Linked DNA regions of Homo sapiens: all the other regions are linked to region 6. Evidence: promoter capture Hi-C in 16 types of primary human blood cells and fetal thymus (Javierre and others, 2016). All regions are on one chromosome and are shown on one strand. The core of a region is centred on a gene start or on the middle of the fragment in contact, and the rest is flanking DNA. Distances in the headings are between cores, read along the strand shown. Region 1 has its middle 11 kb from the start of ERAP1. Region 2 overlaps ERAP1 (endoplasmic reticulum aminopeptidase 1). Region 3 overlaps CAST (calpastatin). Region 4 overlaps CAST (calpastatin). Region 5 overlaps ERAP1 (endoplasmic reticulum aminopeptidase 1). Region 6 holds the start of GLRX (glutaredoxin). Region 7 overlaps CAST (calpastatin).

The links. The method cuts DNA at HindIII sites, captures the fragments that hold promoters and counts their contacts. A CHiCAGO score of 5 or more calls a contact.
Region 1: a fragment that was not itself captured here is called in contact with the fragment with the promoter of GLRX in region 6 in 1 of 17 cell types (non-activated CD4 T cells); the score reaches 7.5 in non-activated CD4 T cells.
Region 2: a fragment that was not itself captured here is called in contact with the fragment with the promoter of GLRX in region 6 in 2 of 17 cell types (non-activated CD4 T cells and total CD8 T cells); the score reaches 6.1 in non-activated CD4 T cells.
Region 3: a fragment that was not itself captured here is called in contact with the fragment with the promoter of GLRX in region 6 in 5 of 17 cell types (activated CD4 T cells, naive CD8 T cells, total CD8 T cells and 2 more); the score reaches 7.4 in activated CD4 T cells.
Region 4: a fragment that was not itself captured here is called in contact with the fragment with the promoter of GLRX in region 6 in 2 of 17 cell types (activated CD4 T cells and non-activated CD4 T cells); the score reaches 6.0 in activated CD4 T cells.
Region 5: a fragment that was not itself captured here is called in contact with the fragment with the promoter of GLRX in region 6 in 2 of 17 cell types (total CD8 T cells and total CD4 T cells); the score reaches 5.7 in total CD8 T cells.
Region 7: a contact is called between a fragment that was not itself captured here and the fragment with the promoter of GLRX in region 6, in 1 of 17 cell types (activated CD4 T cells). The highest score is 6.1, in activated CD4 T cells.

Annotation. Positions count from the first base shown.
Region 1 is chr5:96,817,452-96,820,563 of GRCh38, reverse strand. It overlaps a transcript of ERAP1 not described here. Among named protein-coding and RNA genes, the nearest start is that of ERAP1, 11 kb to the right of the region's middle. The HindIII fragment of the contact is 1,041 bases long and covers 973-2,013 here.
Region 2 is chr5:96,800,435-96,803,472 of GRCh38, reverse strand. ERAP1 (endoplasmic reticulum aminopeptidase 1) reads left to right here. Exons shown (of 19, transcript NM_001040458.3): 2 at 1-70; 3 at 2,473-2,611. Among named protein-coding and RNA genes, the nearest start is that of ERAP1, 6.0 kb to the left of the region's middle. The HindIII fragment of the contact is 5,871 bases long and covers 1-3,038 here.
Region 3 is chr5:96,721,176-96,724,372 of GRCh38, reverse strand. It overlaps CAST (calpastatin), which reads right to left. Exons shown (of 32, transcript NM_001750.7): 4 at 1,675-1,734. Among named protein-coding and RNA genes, the nearest start is that of CAST, 60 kb to the right of the region's middle. The HindIII fragment of the contact is 2,862 bases long and covers 213-3,074 here.
Region 4 is chr5:96,741,794-96,744,881 of GRCh38, reverse strand. CAST (calpastatin) reads right to left here. Exons shown (of 32, transcript NM_001750.7): 16 at 2,126-2,227. Among named protein-coding and RNA genes, the nearest start is that of ERAP1, 65 kb to the left of the region's middle. The HindIII fragment of the contact is 523 bases long and covers 1,577-2,099 here.
Region 5 is chr5:96,779,895-96,782,742 of GRCh38, reverse strand. It overlaps ERAP1 (endoplasmic reticulum aminopeptidase 1), which reads left to right. Exons shown (of 19, transcript NM_001040458.3): 16 at 889-1,050; 17 at 1,545-1,685; 18 at 2,239-2,320. Among named protein-coding and RNA genes, the nearest start is that of ERAP1, 27 kb to the left of the region's middle. RefSeq lists an enhancer at 1,172-2,371. The HindIII fragment of the contact is 517 bases long and covers 1,045-1,561 here.
Region 6 is chr5:95,821,135-95,824,038 of GRCh38, reverse strand. GLRX (glutaredoxin) reads left to right here and starts at 1,313. Exons shown (of 3, transcript NM_001118890.2): 1 at 1,313-1,583. The coding sequence starts at 1,377. RefSeq lists enhancers at 65-565, 796-885, 2,802-2,904. The HindIII fragment of the contact is 7,969 bases long and covers 1-2,904 here.
Region 7 is chr5:96,762,458-96,765,537 of GRCh38, reverse strand. CAST (calpastatin) reads right to left here. Exons shown (of 32, transcript NM_001750.7): 26 at 213-317. It also overlaps a transcript of ERAP1 not described here. Among named protein-coding and RNA genes, the nearest start is that of ERAP1, 44 kb to the left of the region's middle. The HindIII fragment of the contact is 226 bases long and covers 1,665-1,890 here.

The sequences.
Region 1 (3,112 bases), core at 244-2,743, 1.0 Mb before region 6:
TAGATGTTATATGATCCTCAACAGTTTAAGGAAAACTAGTAACGTTTAGATTTCAGCAAACTTTTACAAGACTGTTTATCAACATTCAAATCTGAAGTATATTGTTTTTTCACATATTAAGGACCAGATCAGATCAGCAATTAGAAGTATGACATACAAAATAATCACCCTCAAGGAAGGTTTAAATTAGGGATGAATTTCCAGTATTGACGTTCCAAGCACCCTGCATATTCTTGCTACTAATTCTGAAAATGAGATTTTCTTTCATTTGTCTTTTTTTAAGCTATGTTGTTTGCTAAATGGCAAATAAGCAAATGCTGATTAGTTAGTTGCCAGATTAAATATATACTTGAGTATATATTTTCTCCCATAAAATGCAGTAAAATGATTTTTAGAACTTTGAGAGATCCTTTCAAGAATGTTCATGAAATTTTAAAGCTTTTTTTGCTGTTTCCGTTGAGATTTTATCACTTGAGAAAGTGAATATGCCTGTGATGGCAAATGGAGAACAACAGAATTGGGTTGGGATGTGGATTCTGAGTCATTGGCCCACATATGGGTGAAGTGACTCCTTCTCTTGCATCTGTTCATGTAACTCTAACCTACGTCTCGGCAAAATTATAAACTACCCAAGTGCTAGACCTTCAGGTCACACCCAAATAGTCAAAATTGTAAATATTAAATCCATAGGTGCTTGAAGTCTATTACACGCTCAATCTTTTGATGATGTCCTAAGAAATAATGACTTCACTCACAAAATACTAGAATACTGTGCTGAATATGCAGGGTGCTTGGAAAGATCCATGTCAATACTGGAAATTCATCCCTAATTTAAACCTTCCTTGAGGGTGATTATTTTGTATGTCATACTTCTAATTGCTGATCTGATCTGGTCCTTAGTACGTAAAAAAACAATCCTAGGAAAAGTGTTTGGTTTTTCAAACTTACGGTATAACAAGTTTTGAAGAAGCTTCAAGGCAAGTAAAGGAAACACACCTGAGTTTTGTTGGTAGAAAACATTTTATTTTCTCTCTCTCTCTCACACACACACAAACACACATACACAAACACACACACCCCTCTGGAGCCACAGGCTCTCCTGCCTTCCTCCTCTCACAGCAATTTTTCTTTGGTTCTTCCCCATTGTTAGTGAAATAGCTGGAACTCACCAGTCTACACCGCTGATGATTGTCTGTAGGATGAAAACATGATGATATGGTGGTAGCAGCTGTCCATGAGGCTTCTGACAAATGAAGCTGTTCTTAGAGAGTACTTACCTGAAATTGAGTGATGTTACAAAATCACTGAAATAAAGTCAGTTGGTTAGAAAATGCAGTTCAAGCCGGGTGTGGTGGCTCACGCCTGGAATCCCAGCACATTGGGAGGCCGAGGCGGGCAGATCACGAGGTCAAGAGATTGAGACCATCCTGGCCAACGTGTTGAAACCCCGTCTCTATTAAAAATATAAAAATTAACCGGGCGTGGTGGTGGGTGCCTGTAGTCCCAGCTACTCGGGAGGCTGAGGCAGGAGAATCGCTTGAACCTGGAAGGCGGAGGTTGCAGTGAGCTGAGATCATGCCATTGCACTCCAGCCTTGGTGACAGAGCGAGACGCCGTCTCAAAAATAAATAAATAAATAAATAAATAAATAAATAAATAAATAAATAAATGCAGTTCAGGTTTGGCTTCATTGGAATTTAGGTTGACCTCAATGTATGGGAAAGCAAAGAAATGTCACTTTTCTCATGGAACACAAAAGACACTACCTTCCTTTAAGTGAATAGTGGAATAGCAGGTTATAAGATTGAGACTGTGGTTTGTTTATTACAACTCTTAAAATTAAACGCTACTGATTCTCACCGCAATAAAACTATCTTTATCCAAGAGGGAGGATTTATGGCATGGATTCTGAATGCCTCGGGCGTTGAAGAAAGCTGGAGGAAAGAGGTAGTCCCAGGCCTTAATTAAGGATGAACTCAGAAAACCTGCACAACAAAAAAAGCCTCTCAAGCTTAGCCTCCTTTTCTTTCTTCTTTGGGGTTATTCTCTCAGCCATCACCCATAGCGGGAACTTAGCCATTAACTCTAGGGCCATATTTATATAGTGCTGGGAACATAAAGGAAAAAAAAAAAAAAAGAGGCTTCCCTGTTAGCTTCAGCCAGAACAATCCTGGGCTGGGAGTCTGCTTGGACTGGCTTTGCCCTTGGCCTCATCGCGGTGGCCAGAGAGTGGAGGTGTTGTGTTCATCTCAGACTGAGCCTGAGCAGTGTGATTATTCATTTACAGGAGGAAAGGGAGGTGTGTTGAGCAGGCAAAAGGGTTTTAAAGCCCCTGGAGACATTCCAAATATACCAAATGATAACTTGATTTTTGGCAATATGCTTCTGTCACAATGTTAAATATTCATCTCACTCCCAAGTGCCCCGTGTCTTTCATAATCTAAATCTACGATTGGTACCTCAATTATTATTTTTTGTTCTTAATTACAATCAATATTACTTGAGGCTTCCTCATGATTGCTTTATTTCTTTTTTATTTGTTCAACCTCAGTACAGTTTAATATTTATTGCAGATATTGGGACTGGCTCACTCAGCATCTCTTCCAAACGCTTTTCAGAATTTCTCACACCACTGCAGAGTCGGGAAAGCAAACACTTTATTTTCCAGACTCCTTGCTCCTAGATTCTAGATGTGCTTTAGGCTCTGCCAAACAGTAGCACTGGTGGGAGACTTGAATTTGGAATTGAGTTCGGTAGGGAGACAGGCAGCTCTTGAGCTATTCATTTTGTGGGGAAAGATTGTGGCACACATGGTATGGTTCTGGAGCCAGCAATTGTGGCAGAGGCTGCCCAATTTAGCAGATGGCTCCTGGATCATGGCAAGAGAAGCAGTTTCACTGGTGGCCAAGTTCTACATTGTGGTTTTGCGATTTGTTTCTGGAAGCTCAGTCTAGTGTATTTTTTAAGCCTTCCCAATGATTATGTAAGTCATGTAATAGCCTGCAATAAATCCTTTTCTGATTAAATAGCTTAGTGATTCTGTGCTCTGCCATTGAACCCTGACACAACATAGAAATTAGTTTTTAAAATGTCATTGATCTTTTTGATTGTG
Region 2 (3,038 bases), core at 26-2,525, 980 kb before region 6:
CTGGCAATCTTTCGGAGACTTTCCACGGATTTTACAAAAGCACCTACAGAACCAAGGAAGGGGAACTGAGGTATTTTTTTTTCTCTTTTTCTTTTAAACTGCAAGTGCTGCCCACGCTAAATTCATTATTTCAGATTGATTGTCTTTTAAAATTCCCTTTGCTGTTGAACTTTTTCTTCAGTTTTGCTTTTGCATCTTCTTTATAGTGTTAAAAATGGCTTTTTCCCTTGCTTTTTAAATCTCATTTTAAAATTCTATTTTAACCAATTTTCTTTCCCCCAGCTCTATCAGAGTAAATATCTATTTGTTTATTTGGTTCGATTTCTGAGACATAATAAACATGTTTAATTTTCCTGAACTGTGTATTAGTTTCCTAGGGCTGTTGTAACAAAGTACCACAGACTGGGTAGCTATAAACAACAAAATGTATTCTCTCTCAGGTCTGGAGGCTAGAAGTCTGAAATCAAGGTGTCAGCAGGCCCGTGCTCCCTCCAGACTCTGGGTAGAATCCTTCCTTATATCTTCCTAGCATCTAGTGGTGGCCGTGGATCCCTGGTACTCCATGCCTAGCACCTGCGTCATTCTAGTTTCTCCCTCTGTTAGTCGCATGGCCATTCTATTTTCCTATGTCCCAGTCTCCATCTTCTTATAAGGAAACCAGACATACCAGATTAGGGCCCAGCCTGGTGGCCTCTTCTTCACTCCATGATACTTGTAAAGACCCTATGTCCAAATAAGGTCACATGCACAGATACTACAGGTTAGGACTTCAGCAAATCCTACTAGCAACATATTAGAGGAAATACTTTTATCTCAGTTAAAACTTTTTTAGAGATCTCTTCTCACCTTGCTTTGGTTCTGTTTTTAAGGAGGAGACTTATTTGGGGGAGATTTTATGCTCAGTTTTAAAATGGAATTTTATTTGTTGGTAGATTATACTAATTTATTTTTCAAATTCCATATTATTTTATCAAGGTAAGAAAGTAAAATTTATTTCACTCATAGCCCCCTGAACTGACCACTACTTCTATTTCACTGGAATATTCTGCCAGACTTCTTTCTGGATATGCATATATATTATTTTATATAAATAGAATTCTTATATTTTCTCTTTTACAAGGAAATTTTTTAACTTAATATGTTGGGAAGATGTTTTATATAAATGACTATTACTAGACATCTTTTTAATGATTTTATTAAAATACATAGTTGTACATTAATATCTTTAATCCCTCGGGAATGGAAATGAAATTGTTTCCAATTTTTCAGTATCAACAACACTTTGATGAGCATTTTTGTAAATTATTTCTTTAGAATAAATGCCTAGAAGTAAAATTGGTAAGCCAAAGAGCCTATAAATTTTTGATAAACTTTGTCATTTTTTCTTACCCCTCACCAATAGTGTATATTGGCAGTCTTTTTAGAGCAAAAAAGGTCCCCAAATAAATGATCTCTTTTTAATTTACGTAACTTTGATTAAGGAAGTTGAGCAGCTTTTGATATGTTTGTTAATGATTTATAGGTTCTTCTTTTATGAATTGCCTGTTAATGACCTTTGACTTTGCCTGAGATTCCCTTGGTTGTTGGGGATTTTTTTTTTTTTTTTTTTTTTTTTTTTGTCGAGACGGAGTCTTGCTCTGTCACCCAGGCTGGAGTGCAGTGGCGCGAACTCGGCTCACCGCAACCTCCGCCTCCCGGGTTCAAGCAATTCTCCTGCCTCAGCCTCCTGAGTAGCTGGGATTACAGACGCGCACCACCACACCCAGCTAATTTTTGTATTTTTAGTAGAGATGGGGTTTCACCATGTTGGCCAGGGTGGTCTCGAACTCCTGTCCTCGTGATCCGCCCGCCTAGGCCTCTCAAAGTGCCAAGATTACAGGTATGAGCCATTTTTAGGATTACATATTTTTAGGATCTCACTATCTGTTAAGGCTATTAAGTTTTCCTCACATACTTCTTAAATGAATTTTCCCTGTTTTTTACTTTTTCTTTTTAACTTTTTTTTTTTTCTTCCCGAGACAGGGTCTGGTTCTGTCGCCCAGGCTGGAGTGCAATGGCGCAATCTCAGGTCACTGAAACCTCTGCCTCCTGGGCTCAAACCATCGTCTCACCTCTGCCTCCCAAGTAGCTGGGACTACAGGCCTGCACCACCATGCCTGGCTAATTTTTGTATTTTTGGTAGAGATGGGGTTTTACCATGTTGCCCAGGTAGGTCTCACACTCCTGGGCTCAAGTAATCCTCCCACCTCAACCTCCCAAAAATGTGTTAGGATTACAGGCATGAGACACCATGACCATGCCCAGTGTAACTCGTCTTTTAACTTAGTTTATGATAGCTTTTGTCAGATGAAATATTTTTTAGTAGCAAAATCCATCAATCTTATAGTAACTTTAGGAATTAAAAAGCAAACACCTGTTTTAGAGTTCCTGGTGCTTCATGCTCAATTTTTATTTCACTTGCCTTAATTTTAGGATACTAGCATCAACACAATTTGAACCCACTGCAGCTAGAATGGCCTTTCCCTGCTTTGATGAACCTGCCTTCAAAGCAAGTTTCTCAATCAAAATTAGAAGAGAGCCAAGGCACCTAGCCATCTCCAATATGCCATTGGTGAGTCTGCACTCCTGTGTATTTTCTATAGGAAAATCTACTGATTCTCTGTGACTTGCACTAGCCCAGTGACAGTCAACATTGGGTCACCTGTTTTGTTTTATTGCCTGGCAGATCGTTACTAACTTTTCATTTATAACCTATGCTTTTGTTTCAAGCCATAGTTATATGTAATCAAAGTAAAAATTGCACCTAAAAATGCAAGATTTCAGTAACAGTGCCATTCCAGGTTATACATGCTGATAGGAGGGAAGTGGTATAAGAAATTCAGGTCAGGTTTAAATATTAGTGCCCTTCACAAAGCACTTTCACCCTCATTTTCTCATATGATCTTTTAAAATGATTTTAAAGGTAATGCTTTGTCAATAAGGCCATATTTTTAGCATACAGTTATTTTCTCTAAGTTACATATACTATATAGTAATAT
Region 3 (3,197 bases), core at 394-2,893, 900 kb before region 6:
CTGTCTCTACAGAAAAACAGAAATATTAGCCAGGCATGGTGGTGTGCCCCTAGAGTTCCAGCTACTCAGGAGACTGAGGTAGGAGGATCACTTGCATCCAGGAGGTCAAGGTGGCAGCAAGCTGTGATCATGCCACTACATCCAGCCTGGAAGACAGAGCGAGACCCTGCCTCAAGGAAAAAAAAAGATTTTTAATTTTTTAAGATTAAGCTTAACATAATTAAATAGAGACAGCTAACATTAATTATAGATTATATAATGTATATTTTGAAAGCAATTTAGAAATCAATGTAAATTTAAATACTAAATTTAAAAACTGATAATTTTAGATTAAAATTTTAAATGAATGCTAAATGACATAAGAACTTAGATGTGGATAGTGTATTTCTAGATATTTGTAATGTTCTTTGAAGATGATTCAAGATGAGGCCATATAATCCTTTGATAGTACTAAGTTATAGTGCCACATCACCTGGGATAGGAAACTACAGGGATAGCATAGTAATATGAAAGACAGAAAACAAAAGTAGGTTGGTAATTTTAAACAAGGGCAATTTAATAATAATGGAGTTGGGGTAGCTCTTAAAGGTATTAAAGAATATTGGCACACAAACATTAGTTGAGAGAATTTTGAAAATGCTCCCTCTTTAATTCCCTCCCCTGAAATATTCCCAAGAGATACAGCTTGAGCTAGAGTAACTTAGGGAGAGGGTTTAAAAGGCAGCTGCAGCCAGCTCTTCAGAACAAAGTGGACAATACCACTAGAGGAAATTCTTTTATTTTTAATTCTGAAATTCAAAAAAATAATTTTAAGAATAAATCCCAAATAGAGCTCAAGAAAGGTTTGTCAATAAAATGGTACCCCACAAGACTCAAATTTCAGAAAAAACAACTTGGGAAAGCATCCGAAATAACCAGTATATTTTTATGTTCATTTAGTATAATCTTTCATTTTTATATTTATTTTTAAGTGCTCAGAATAGTAAGACCATTTTAGCAAGAATTAATAATTTATATTCTCATTTCAATGTAGAGAAATGTACTTAGAGGAATATCTTCAATTAAAAAACTCAATCAAATCTAGGATCAAAAACAAAAACAAAACTGGCCACGGGCACGGTGGCTCATTCCTGTAATCCCAGCACTTTGGGAGGCCCAGGTGGAAGGACTGCTTCGGCCCAGGAATTTGAGACCAGCTTGGGCAACACAGTGAGACCCTGTCTCTACAAAAACAAACAAACAAACAAACAAACAAAAAAACAATTAGCCGGGCATGGTGGTGTGCCTCTGTAGCCCCAGCTACTCAAGAGGCCGAGATGGGAGGGTCGCTTGAGTCCAGGAGGTTGGGGCTGCAGTGAGTGTAATCACACCACTATACTCCAGCCTAGGTGACAGAGCAAGACCCTGTCTCAAAACAAAACAAAACAAAACAAAACAACTCTAGGTGACTCTACTTTTCTAGATAACCTAAAACCATGTAGATGATGTGTAAGGTAAATATTGGAAGGAAAGCTGAGTTTTCAAAGACCCCCATAAATTAGGAAGAAAATGTTTACTTCCATAATTAAAACTTCCTAGCATATATAACTCATCATCAACAATTAGTCTACATTTGTTTTGCTTTGCAGCACAATCAACTTAAATTAGCACTCACTCAATTAGCATTCTTCATACCTTGGTTTCTGTGGGATTCATACTGGAAGACTTGCTGGTTGCACCAGAGGAAGCTGACACCTAGAAAGGAAAGAAAGAAATAGAAAGTTCGATTCTATTTAACCTACAATCTACATGGTCCTTCAGCTCCTCTTAACCATACTGCCCTTGGCCCTTTACCTTGGTTTTACCCAGTTTAGAGCACAAAAATCTAGTAGGAGGTGGTGTCCAGTAGTGAAAGCCTTTGTAACCAGATCAAATAGGTTCAAAATTTGGGTCTGCTATTTACTAAACAATCTCGGGTAAGATACTTAAATTTTATAATCTCCAGTTTCCCAACCTCAATTTTTCTTTAGTAGTTAACAACTACCTTGTAAGTTTATTATTAGAATTACTCCCTGGCACATAATGAATGCTCAGTAAATATTATTATAATTACTGTTTATGTTATTTTCAGAAAAAACATGGATTTTGCAACTCAACAAAATTTTGTTCAAGCCCCAGCTCTGTCAGTTACAAGCTCTGTGACTTTGAGCTTTGTCTTCCAGGTCCATTTACATACAAAGTACAGTAACATCTATTTGCAGGGTCGTATTTGAGATAGTGTGGCAAAATGTCTGGCAAATTGCAGATGCTCATTAAATTGCCAGTGTGTTATTCCTAATACATAAGATAGAAGGACAAAACTCCCGTAAATAGACTTGGGTGGATGTGAACTGTCCGTTCAGTGTCATGTAAGAAAGAGAAGGTGGAGACAAGGTTACAGAGGGAATTCTACTGCATTATGTCTCATCTAGGCTCTTCCTTAGAAGGCAAGAGGTGATAAATAGTAACTATTCAAGGAACACCCTTCCTTGAGATGCTTGCAGTGGTGCAATCAGCCCCTGTGATCCAGTCATCTAAGTACTGGGATGTGTGTGTGGATACTTGTATGGTTTGGAGTACTATTCTAGTACTTAACTTGTATTACACTGGTTAATATTAAACAGATAATTATAATCTTTGCAAACTCCTACCCAGACTCATTTAAACCTCCTTAACACTTAAAGTCCATTAGGTTTTAGAACCCAGGGATTCCATCTGGCATGAGCTGCCTTCTTAAGTAACTGACTGTCAGTAAACAGCTGCTACCCTGCCAACAACACCCAGGGAAGGAAGCCTGTAAGATGGACCTCACTGTGTCCCTAATGCCTGGTCCAGAGCCACTTCAGAGGCTGAGTCACAGGGCAGCATGAGCCCATTCCTGCTTCTCCCTTACCTTCCCCCACCCCCAATACACTACCACTCAAGGTGATTGTATGAAACCCACTATAGTCTATGGCCCATGAACAAAATCACCTTCCCCACAAACCTCAGTTAATGCAGAACACATTGATGCTTGTAGTTAAACTATCATAATTTACAGACAGAAATCCAAAGCTTTAGTATACTTATTTTTCAAAAATAATCATATAAACATAACTATTCCTGAGAACCCTTAGGCACCAACTGGACACTCCCTTCCACCAAAATACACACACACGCACACATACAAGAAGCCCCAG
Region 4 (3,088 bases), core at 589-3,088, 920 kb before region 6:
CTTTTATTTTATGTTATGGTAGATGATGGGAATACCAAGTAGGCATGGGTTTCCTCTCTGGAGTATTGTGTGGTTTTCCACAGATAGCTCTCTATTCTGGGGTATGCTGGGGTGGCAGTGGACACTCCTACAGGCTGACAGTGACCTTCCTGAGCCTTCTCATCACATCAGACTATCTAGGATGTAAAGGACCCACTAAGTCGGGTACTAAGAATTCAGGTTAATAATCTAGAGGACTGAAAGATCCTCTTTAGAAACATTCATACTTTGTATATGATTAAAAAGGAAAACTAGTGATATGCTTTGGCTGTGTCCCCACCCAAATCTCATCTTGAATTGTAGCTCCCATAATTCCCACGTGTCGTGGGAGGGACCCAGTGGGAGGTAATTGAATCATGGGGGCGGAGCTCTCCTGTACTGTTCTCATGATAGTGAATAATTCTCACTAGATCTGATGGTTTTATAAAGGGGAGTTCCCCTGCACATGCTCTTTTACTTTCCTCCATGTAAGACGTGACTTTGCTCCTCATTCACTTTCCACCGTAATTATGAGGCCTCCCTAGCCATGAGGAACTGTGAGTCAATTAAACTTCTTTCCTTTATACATTACCCAGTCTCTGGTATGTCTTTATTAGCAGCATGAGAACAGACTAATACAACTATTATGTCATAAGAGTGGAAAAGAGGAGTTCTTTTTGCTGGAATTTTAGTTTGCTGCGACTCTGAAGTTTTCTAGAGGGAACTTAATACATTCATATGCATTCCCAAACTAGTTACCCACATGTTTAAATAACTTATTTTATGTCACTTTTTTTCTTAACATCTGCTTATCTGCTTTTAGTCACTTTTAAGACTCCTTTGATCCTGAGGTTTATGACATGTTTATACCCTCCCTTCCCACATTAATTGTCTCTCCTTAAGTGTCTGTAAGAAGCTTGGGGCAGAAGTGCAATATACTTGTGGCCCTGTCGCCCTCAGGTGGTAAAGCCACAACTCAGCTTGGCCTCCTGACTCCCCCCAGGATTCTGCCAACACCCCGCTTTCCTCAAGATGACACTGCTTCTGTCGGCTACTCTAAGTAATGTATATCTCACATTGTGTTGTAATCAAGTTTCCCTTCTTCCCAATACATTACTTGGTCCTGGAAGATACGAACTGCTTCTCTTGCTCCTCTGCGTTCACCGTCACAAAGCTTATCGTGCCACACTGTGGCCGGTGAGCCCTCCAAGAAAGTCGAAGATAGAAACTGGCCCATCTTAGGCCAGGGCAGTCCCAGACTCAAGGATTGTTGCTGGAAGTCAGGGAGACTCCCCTTCCCTGATGACTCAGAACAGGAAGTGACAGCAGAGATGGGGCATTGTGACAGCAATGCCTGCCAGCACCCCCAGCCTGAGCTGATGGAGGTGGGGCGGGCTCCTGGGGATCCCAGGCTACCTTTCCATCTCCCCACAACACTGCCTTGTCAGGAACCGGCAACTCTCTCCTTTCCTTCCTCTTTCACCCCAGAGGACTGAGTTGAAAAATTCCACAAAAATTATAATTTAATATTAAAACTTTCGTACACCAGATGTAAGCTTGTTTTGGTTCAGAAGGCTTGTTAAGATCTTGGAGTGTGGCGGGATAAACACTCATCAGCATTATTCTATAAATATGCAGGAGCTCTAGTTAGGGTAATTGTTGCTTGATTTTAATTTGAGACAAAATTTTCAACATCTTTCCCCATAGTGATAAATGAAGGATCTTCCCACTCCGTGTATAGACATCTCCTTCTCTTATAAACAGAAGCACCCAGAACCCTTCTGAAAATACAAATTTCCAATTGCCAAACTTCACTATTTCCCACCAGGCATTGCCTCCTTGTTACCTTGTTTAGTCAAGGGTCATTTAAGCTCTAGCAAGGGAGATTCGTGTTCATTTCAAATGTTAAAATTCTAGCTGTTTCACAAGTCAGTCATGTAACTATCCCCCTTAGTTGCTAACCACTCAGCAATAAATAAGGCACAATGAAGAATGCTCACTTTTACTCTCCAATAAAAGTTGTGCGAGAATTCTAAACATGCAGAGTGCATTCGGTTTTGTAATGTGCAGACTAACAAGCTTTGTAAATCAACTCTAAGGTCAGTACCTCATCGACTTCCTTAATTGAGCGGAGGTCGAGCTCAGGTTCTGCTTGCCGGGTGCCCAGTGAAGCCGACAGAGCCTCGAGTGCTTGATCACTCATTGTATCCTGTTAAAAGTAAAAAATCCTGTGCATGAAAAAAGACATCTCTGGAGCCCGAACAATCCATTTACTTCTTTGTAAAATACATTTTAGATTATAAACTGAATATGGATTGGGGAAGTGCTCTAGAAAGGCAATTTTATTTGAAACCTTGCAAAAGAGAGAAAGGAAAAAGAACTTACCAATGAGTGGAAATTGGGGCTAAGACACGTTTCTACAGTAACAGCGTTCTCTGGGGCACACTTCACCCCTTATTTGGTAAGCTAGACATAAAGCTATAGTAATATTACTATAAAATACTCTAAACAAACAAAAAAAAAAGAAGCAAGTAGTAAACTGTTACCACACTATTTTTCTTTTTCTAAAAATGTATCTCTAAAAAGGCTTCTGACAACCTAAGCTTAGGAAGCAGGGAAGCTTGAAGTGGCCCCTGCTGCCTTCTTCTCTGAAGGCACAATGGCTGATCGTTGTAGGAACTCCCACTCTCAGGGGTGTGGTACTCACCACTGTTCCCCAGCCTGCCAGATAAAAATAAACTGTCCACTCCAGGAGGGGAGAGGCACAAGCTGCTCTGATAGAAACCGTTCCTGAGCATTATCTTGACTGTTTGCAGAGGAGACATGTGTTCCCAGCCAGCACAGAGCTGCAGGATTGCCTTTTGCGATTTGTGAGAATTATGTCATAGTGAAATATAGTTGAGAATGCTGGGCAGTACCAGCTACTTGGTGTCCCTCTAGTGATCCTCAGGGCTCAAAGTCCTTTATACAATCAAACTTGAAGGTTTTATGTTCCAAGAGTGCAATTTCTCTGGTTTCTGCCCTTCTGTGTATCATAATGGTGAGATGGTCTTAGATGATGACTGAGACA
Region 5 (2,848 bases), core at 54-2,553, 960 kb before region 6:
TTGTATTTTATAGTAGTTTCTTTGGGCTTCCAAATTCCCTGACAGGGATGCATAGTAATTGCTGACACTGTCTAAGCAAGGTAGGATTTTACCGTATCTGGAAATCCCTATTCTTGCTACACTTCAGTCCTTTTTACATTTGGAGCTTAAACCCCACCCAGGAAACATTTATGCCAACAACCTACATGCTTCAGCTTAAAGAAATCCAAACAGTGGTCCTACTGCCGTCCTGACTTGTGATCATGGTGTAAATTTTGAATATAGTTTGAATTTCTTTTGGCTTGAAAGGTGATCCCCTATGGAGTCACCCAGCATCATTAAAGTATTTAAATATGTAGGTATTTATAAAAATGGCATTTCACATTTTTGAGAAGGCTACTTAAAACCTAATTTTAGATATTTTTCTCTTGCCTTTTTTTTATAAAGTGTAACTAGGCCAGGCGCGGTGGCTCACGCCTGTAATCCCAGCACTTTGGGAGGCTGAGGTGGGTGGATCACGAGGTCAGGGGATCAAGACCATCCTGGCTAAGACGGTGAAACCCCGTCTCTACTAAAATACAAAAAATGAGCCGGGCATGGTGGCGGGCGCCTGTAGTCCCAGCTACTCGGGAGGCTGAGGTAGGAGAATGGCGTGAACCCGGGAGGGCGGAGCTTGCAGGAACCGATATCGAGCCACGGCACTCCAGCCTGGGTGACAGAGCAAGACTCCGTCCTAAAAAAAAAAAAAAAAAAAATTGTAACTGAAGGAAATCAGTAGTTTTTGTTTATATTTCCAGGCATGCTTCTCTGATCATGGGGAAAGTTCAGCAGTTCATAGTTAGTCACCATTATGCCTCTAAACATACTTACTGCACCTCAGATTCTCACCGAGTGTGTTCCTTTCTATAGCCTGCCTGTCGACGTGACCTTGGCAGTGTTTGCTGTGGGGGCCCAGAGCACAGAAGGCTGGGATTTTCTTTATAGTAAATATCAGTTTTCTTTGTCCAGTACTGAGAAAAGCCAAATTGAATTTGCCCTCTGCAGAACCCAAAATAAGGAAAAGCTTCAATGGTGAGTCCGTCATTCATTCATGTTCATGTGGCCAAGGGAAATTAGATTAGATTAGATCATTCTGGCATCTATTTTTGTTTTCTTGGCCAGGAATTGCCTATCCTGCTGGGAACATACTGCAAGTCAGCACACATCTAATGAGAAAGGCAAATAATTAGGGAGAACCAGGTGTTAGGAAAAATATTTAAAGGTGTATACATTTGTGCATCTTTAAAATGACAACATATTAAAAATATTTACTAGAGCTACTCTTCCTTAACTATTCTTTTGAGCAAATGAGAGGGTATATGAGAATGGGTGTTATGAACACTATATAAATGTTAGTTTTTATTATGTAGCTATAGTGGGTTTATCAGGATTGTGGTTACCCATTTATCTTTTTAACCTTTGTTACTGGCAGACTTTTTTTTCTTTTACAAGTAATTTTATTGCAGTGATTCATAACTGTTTCATCACCTATTCATTGCTAACATTTCTTTTCTTAATCCTTCTAGGCTACTAGATGAAAGCTTTAAGGGAGATAAAATAAAAACTCAGGAGTTTCCACAAATTCTTACACTCATTGGCAGGAACCCAGTAGGATACCCACTGGCCTGGCAATTTCTGAGGAAAAACTGGAACAAACTTGTACAAAAGTAAGTGGTGCCAAAAATTGTGCTGTGACTGGATAAGTTCATAACCTTACTGTGTTTTAGCCTTGCTGTTTGTAAAAGAACAGTAACAGTCTAAAGGTACTTTTTGATTGAAGATAGGCAGTAGAAATACCTAAAATATTTGTAGAAAACATAAAACTGGACTTCAGTGCTAACTAGTGAATCTGGACAGGGATGTTTTCCATTCCATCTGGCATAACCCCTTCCTGAGCCCATGGACATATCTGAAGCCTTCCTCCTCACAGTTCAGCCCAGGCCTTCCATGAACACATTTGCTTGTTCACATCTGTCTTTGTCTAACTCTTATAGCATTTCCTGCTTCTGTCATTTTCTGTTGGATACTTAACCTTTTATTAGGCTGTTGGTGTGTATTATTCTTTACAGCTAGATCTTAACCCATTGGATAGACATCATATTTTGTATTTTTCACACCGATCAGTTTTTAGCTGAAAGCTATTATATATAGGAGGCCCTTAAAATATATGTTAAATGAATAAGTATTTCACAACCCGTTTTTGAATATTTCCCTCTCTAGGTTTGAACTTGGCTCATCTTCCATAGCCCACATGGTAATGGGTACAACAAATCAATTCTCCACAAGAACACGGCTTGAAGAGGTAAAAAAAAAAAATCTATATATATATTTTTAAACATAAATGAAAATTAGCTAATTAATATGGGGTAGACAAAATACTTTGAGGGTGTGGTGAGTTAGAAATGGATTGTCATTTAGAAGTTATTTTTGGATGCTATGGTGTTGACAGCAGCATAAATCAGTTGCAATTAAACTAGTGAAAACTGTGCCTCTTCTCAGACACGTTAAGAGGTCTTAGCTCTGCCAGTAAAAACCTTAGGACTTGAAGAAAATTACTTGAGACAATTAGTCCTTGTTTAAGGATGTTAAAAGTGGGCACTGAGGTATAAATGACTGAAGTGGTCATCCAGCTGTTGCTAAAGAGGCAGGTCCGGAATCTAGGTTCTTTATAAACCATCCAAGTTCATGGTTCCCTGTCACTTATTATGTAACCATCTACCTTCAGAAAGAATTTCAGGCAGCTTTAAGATCCATGTATAAAAGAAATGTTAAAATGAAGGACAAAAAGATACATAATGGACAGGTGATAACCATGTGAGGGACTTATGGC
Region 6 (2,904 bases), core at 64-2,563:
CTCAGAATCTGGCTTTCTCATTTTGCCATTTTAATTCTAGTAACGATGAGAGTCACAGTAAAAAGCTGCTTCTGGGAGTGGATTTTCTTCCCTTCCCTTGATCGCAGTATGCTTGGGATTCCTCTTACGTGGCAGTCGTGGTGTCCAGCTCTGGCCTTGGCCCCGCCTCTTTGAAGATACTCTGGTTTCACCATAAAACTTCCTGGGGAAAGGATGATTCACGTTTAAAGGACATAGTTTTTCCTTGATTTGTTTATTTAAGCTACCATACACTAGAGGGGGCCGGAACTAGACCCAGGAGTAGAGGACTTTGCTTTGCGGGATAAGGAGAATGGGCACCCTGGGGAAGAGCGAAAGATTTCCTACTGTTACAACCCGTGTCTTATAACACTTGAAGTGAATGTGGTGTCTGAGTTACAACACTACTTCCCCTCACAAACAGTTAAAAGCAGAGGGTCACAAACATAGGCTCAACCAGAAAAAAAGATTCTCATTTCATCTGTAGTTTTGTATCAAGGATTGTGTTGGAATTTGCCTCCATATTAAACTGCTGTTCAAGGGTTACCAACTCAAATGGTTATGGGGTGAAGCCGGTGTCTCAGGCATGGGCCTGTCGTTGGGACCTGTGGCAAACCAAAGCCACTACTTGCCCTATACAAAGGGGGCAACAGCTGTCAGCCCCAGCAGCTTCCACTAAAAGGTGCAAGCTCTGTATTGCCCGACCTGACTTTTCAGAGAGAAGTTTTAAGTCCGAATTGTTTTGTGAGACCTCCAGATTTTTAAATACTGAGAATGAATTCCATTAAAAAGATCACAACAACAAACACCCACCATACAGTCCAAGCAAAATGCTGTGAGAGCAACCTTCATGAGGAGTGCAAAGTCACAGTTTCAATTTCACTTCTTCTAAAGAGATTTCCAAGTGTTCTGTTTCTTAAGTGATTCTGTTTGCATTTTAAAATACAACTGTATCTCCTAGAGGGAAAACAAGAATTTGCTCTAAGAAGTCACTGCCTCCTCAGCCCCTTTGTGAGTAAGCACTTTATGCTTCCCCAGAGGTGACTAAACTCTGATCATTGCCAATGGGCAGGCACTCCCCAAATGTCCAAGGACAACAAAGATACCCAGAGTGTCTTTCATAGCTACCAATGATTAAATAGCAAGTATTGCATTCCTGGGCATTGCTAACTAGTGAAGTATACCAGATGGAAATGTCTTCGAAGCTGTCCCTTTAAAACTCGAGCAAGCTACCAGGCAAACTCCGCCTCCAGGGAGGTTCCTTATTAAATAGGAGCCAACTGGCTGGGTCGGGGCTCAATACCCCAAGCAATACCTGCAACTGAGGATTCTTCCCGGGGAGACCGCAGCCCATCGGCATGGCTCAAGAGTTTGTGAACTGCAAAATCCAGCCTGGGAAGGTGGTTGTGTTCATCAAGCCCACCTGCCCGTACTGCAGGAGGGCCCAAGAGATCCTCAGTCAATTGCCCATCAAACAAGGGCTTCTGGAATTTGTCGATATCACAGCCACCAACCACACTAACGAGATTCAAGATTATTTGCAACAGCTCACGGGAGCAAGAACGGTGAGTTTCATTTTAAACGGCTAGGGAAAGGCTCCCGGATTGCCTTTTCTTGTCAGAGCTGTGCCTTTCTTTAGGATAAGGCTGCGGCTCCGTACTTCAAGGCGTCCAGAGGGCTGTGCGGGGCGGGGGGTGTGGGGGAGGGCGCCTTAGAGAGGATCTCGGTCACTTGAATGAGCGGCGGCACTGCAGCCAAAGGTCTTCACGGGGCAGAAGAGGGAGTACAGCTGATGTCTGCTGTGCGGCAGGGTAAGTGGGACCAGCAGCTTGCCGGTGAGTCCCTGGGGAATTATCTAGAGTCTTTGTTTTAAGCACTGCCAGGAAATGACAGTTTTCAGTTGGCAGGGCTGGAGGTGGAAGCTGGGGTGGAGGGCCGGGTGTGATGTGTTTGTTATTTAACATGAGATTCATGTTCTTCATTCTTTTCTCTAGGCTTTCTTTTTCTAATTTGCTCATTCTTCCTTATCTAATTCCTCCCACTGGAAAAATCTAATGTACCGTTATCTGCCCCTTGTTCTAAATTAATTATGGATGTTTCCAGGCCCCACATTGTAGGGAATCATAGCCTGGAGTTCTGGCCTGGCTCTTATAATGGCTGGCTGTGTGATCCTGGGCAAGTCACCACCCCAGTAGTCCTCAAAGATCCCAGCTGCAAGACCAGATTAGGTGACCTCAGAGTCCCATTTGCTACGAATAGACTGTGGGACCCTCTAAAAATTGCTCTCCTCCATCCGAAAGACTTCCCTCTCTTCAGCATCCTTGGCTTTGCGTCCTGGGCTTCAGGAGGGATGCCAGCCACATCACCTGTATCAGTTCTGCTGTGAGGTGGGATGAGAAATGTCCCACCAGCTCAGCTAAGTTCTCTTTTACGATGCACGAATTCTACAGCACAGTGTTAGGCCAAGCACATATCCTATTTCAGTTTTAGTTTGACTTACAAGGTTGTCTCTGGGTTCTGAGTATAAAGCATTGGAGGTTGTTTCTCTCCCCTTCTCTCTAATAAGAAGTCAGCATTTTGGTGCAGAAAGGGGGCTTAGTGTGTTATCCTACTGCTGTGTGCTGAGGTCCTGGAGTATACACAATGACGAGAGAAGCTCTTGCTGCCTAGTGGGACCACCAGCTGCATAGGATGCCCAGGCCCTGAGAGGTGTAAAGGGCAGTGCAAACACTACTACGGGCCCCACTGTGGCTGCCACCCTGAGGACCTTTTAGCCATTGGTTCCCAAACTTTGCTGCACATTAGGATCACCTAGAGAGCTTTTAAAACAATCCTTATGCCCAAATTATGCCCCTCAATAACTAAATCACAATGTCAGAGGTGGGA
Region 7 (3,080 bases), core at 528-3,027, 940 kb before region 6:
CCCTCAGGGAGGCTCCGCTGGTATCTCTGTCACAGATTCAGTGACCTTCCCCTCCAGTGGAGTACAGATTGATTTTTCTATTTCATTATAATTTCATGTTTAAAATATAGGTTAAGTTCACATCAATATTCCTATGACAATGACAGAGTCAAGACCCAAGGATTAAAATTTCACTATTAGTGAATTTTTTTTTTTTTTTTTTTTTTTTTTACCTTTACTTTATCTTCCATTGGTTTGTTCTCATCTGGGTCAGGCTGCCTTTGTCCTAGACTGTCAGAGAGTTTATCCAAGGCATCATCGAGGTCTTTGTCACTCTGCTGAAAAGTAAATAATGCTGAATTAGTCACTCATTAGCCAAACTGTATCAGAGGCAAATTAGCCCAGGAACTCCATCTTTTCAGGAGGGAACCTGTTTCCTTGGAAGAAAAAGACATCTGGGGCTGGGGCAGGGGAGTAGACAGGGTCAGAGAAGAGAAGCCTAGGAATGGAAGATCAGGAGAAGAGCGGCAGTATCTGTCACCCTACTGGGGTTGGAGGGCCAGCACCTTCCACCCAACCCTGCCCATCTCTTGGTGAAGATCCCACCAGGTTAAGGAGGTCTTAGTGGCAGCCTCAGGAGCCATATCCAGTGGGTGACCTGGAGGTCACATAAAGGGTCCAAAAGCAAATGAACCAATCATGTGTGCCTTTCATTTAGAAATTAAACACCATTAGAAAACTGGATATGAAAACAAACATCTACTAATGTTGTCAGATGGTTAGGAAGCAAGATTCTGCAACTATAGAGGGTAAGTGTTTCTTTGGTTCTGTGGGTCCTCTCTAAAACTCTAAGATCTTGAGGGGTGCATTTCAGAAAGTGCAGCGTGACCCGCAGTTTGTGGGAAGCCATGGAGCTCGGCACTGCCATCCTAATACTTCCTAAAGCACAAAACCCCAGAGACAATCTGGGGTCAGGAGAGTGGAAGGGGCTTGTCTGCCACACTGGTGATGAGTGCCCTGAAAGACTTCAGAGAATTTCTGAACTGGTGGGGAAACCTCTCTTTTCATCTTCAGGAAGCTCATGGAAGTGAAATTGCAGAAATGGGAGCTGGTATTCTAGAGGAAAAAAATTATGGACAACAATATCACTGTAACTAAGATAGCTTATTTCCTCTAACATTTATTTACTGTATGATTCAGGCAGCTTATTTAACCCCTTTCAGCTTCAGTTTCCTTGGCCGTGAAATGTGAATAATAGTAGTACTTATACTCCTAAGTTGCTGAGAAAAGTAAATGATTGAAAAGGCATTTAAAACAATACTAGTTGTATGTTAGGACCCAACAAATGGTAAATTATTATTAGTATTATTATAGCAAAATCCATATTTTTCAACACATTGCATTCAAAATTCCACCTCTAAATGAATTCAATTAAAATGTGTTTAATATCTACATTGTATAAGACACCATGCTGAACTCTGTCCAATACTGTATAGAACTTTCCAGTTGATTTTCAAAATGTTTTCACATACACTATCCAGTTTTATTTGATGCCCACAATGGTTCTCAGTGAACTAAGCAGGCTTTTTTTTTTTGAGGTAAAAAGCTCAGGGAAGCTAAGTCAGTTGCTTGAAAACAAATTGTTAAAAAGTGAATAGAACCCAGGTCTTGGGACTGATAAAGCTTTTCCCTGTCATGCTTAGTCACATCCATGATCTTCTATTTTCTTTGAAGCAGTTTTCCTGTTGGAGTGATTTTATTACACAGATCTTTGAAATCATGTCTTCAAATGCTTTCAGTGTATGTAACACTGTTAGTAACAATCTAATAATCACAGCAAAGAAAGCTCCCGTGAATTATCATGGTTTATTTGACTCTTCGATTTCCTAATATTTTTATCTAAATAAAGCTTTATACCTTGTTTTAGTGACATCTTCAAATAAAATGTTAACTAAAAACAAGCCTCTCTGATGGGAAATGTGATCAGAGAAGTGTCATTGTAAAACCTACTTCTTAAAGGCAAAAAAGTTTTTGATTGCAAATGTTTACTGATAGCCTTCATCAGGGCAGAATCTCTGGCCTGAATATTAAGAACTGAAGTGTAAACGGCAGCCTAGGCTATTAATGATTCTTCCTTTCTGTTGCATGGGGACTTTCTTCATTGTGGGTGTGTTTACATACACACATGCACATGCACATGCACATACACACACACGGGGCATTTTACTGGTTTTAAGTGCTTTATTATAATCCAGGATTATAGCTGCTAATGGTAGAGCTGCCCGGGGCCAGGTCTGGGCTTTGTCATTTGTGCCTCTGGATATTTTCAGATGATCCTGAAGCTGACGCAACAGGATGAAAATCCATCAGAATCTCAGACTACAGCACTAAATATGCTTTGATGCTACATCAAACGGAATGGAAGCATAGCTGACTTCGCTAAAGTTACTTCATCTCCATCTAGCAAATGAGGCACTGTTCTCAACCAAAGGAGATGGGGATCTGGTTTAGGGCAATCCCTTTATAATTTGATGTGCTGTGGTCTCCTTGGTAATGTATAATTTGGTATTGCACAGGTGATTAGTCAAGGAAGTCTGGAAAAGCTTTGGTCCCACAGCCTTGCCTCACAGCATGTAAATAATTAAAACAATATTGATGCTGAGGTTCTTCTACTGCTAGTATGAAAGTGACAAATTTTTACTGGTGTGAATTGGGAAGAAAACAATGCTATTCCATGACGTTTGTAAAATGTTTGTAAAAGCTCAAACATGACGATTCCATAAAATAAACTTGAGGTTAAATAATGGGTAGTAAATTATAGAATGTATAAGAAAAAATATAAAGGAGAAAATCAATTATCAGGAAAGCTAAAGAACTTTTCAAATCTAGTAATTTGAATATAGACACAATGCACTTTATTGCACTTTCAATTCTTATAAAGCAACAATAATATTAAGGTCCTTGACTATGTGTACAATGTTTTCACATATATAGTTTCATTTAATCATTTCAAAGTTAATCTCTGCCATCTCGCTAAATCATCAGTCTCGGCTCTTCTGAAATAGAAGGTGCCTGATCTTCCTAATAATTCTGCCTATTTT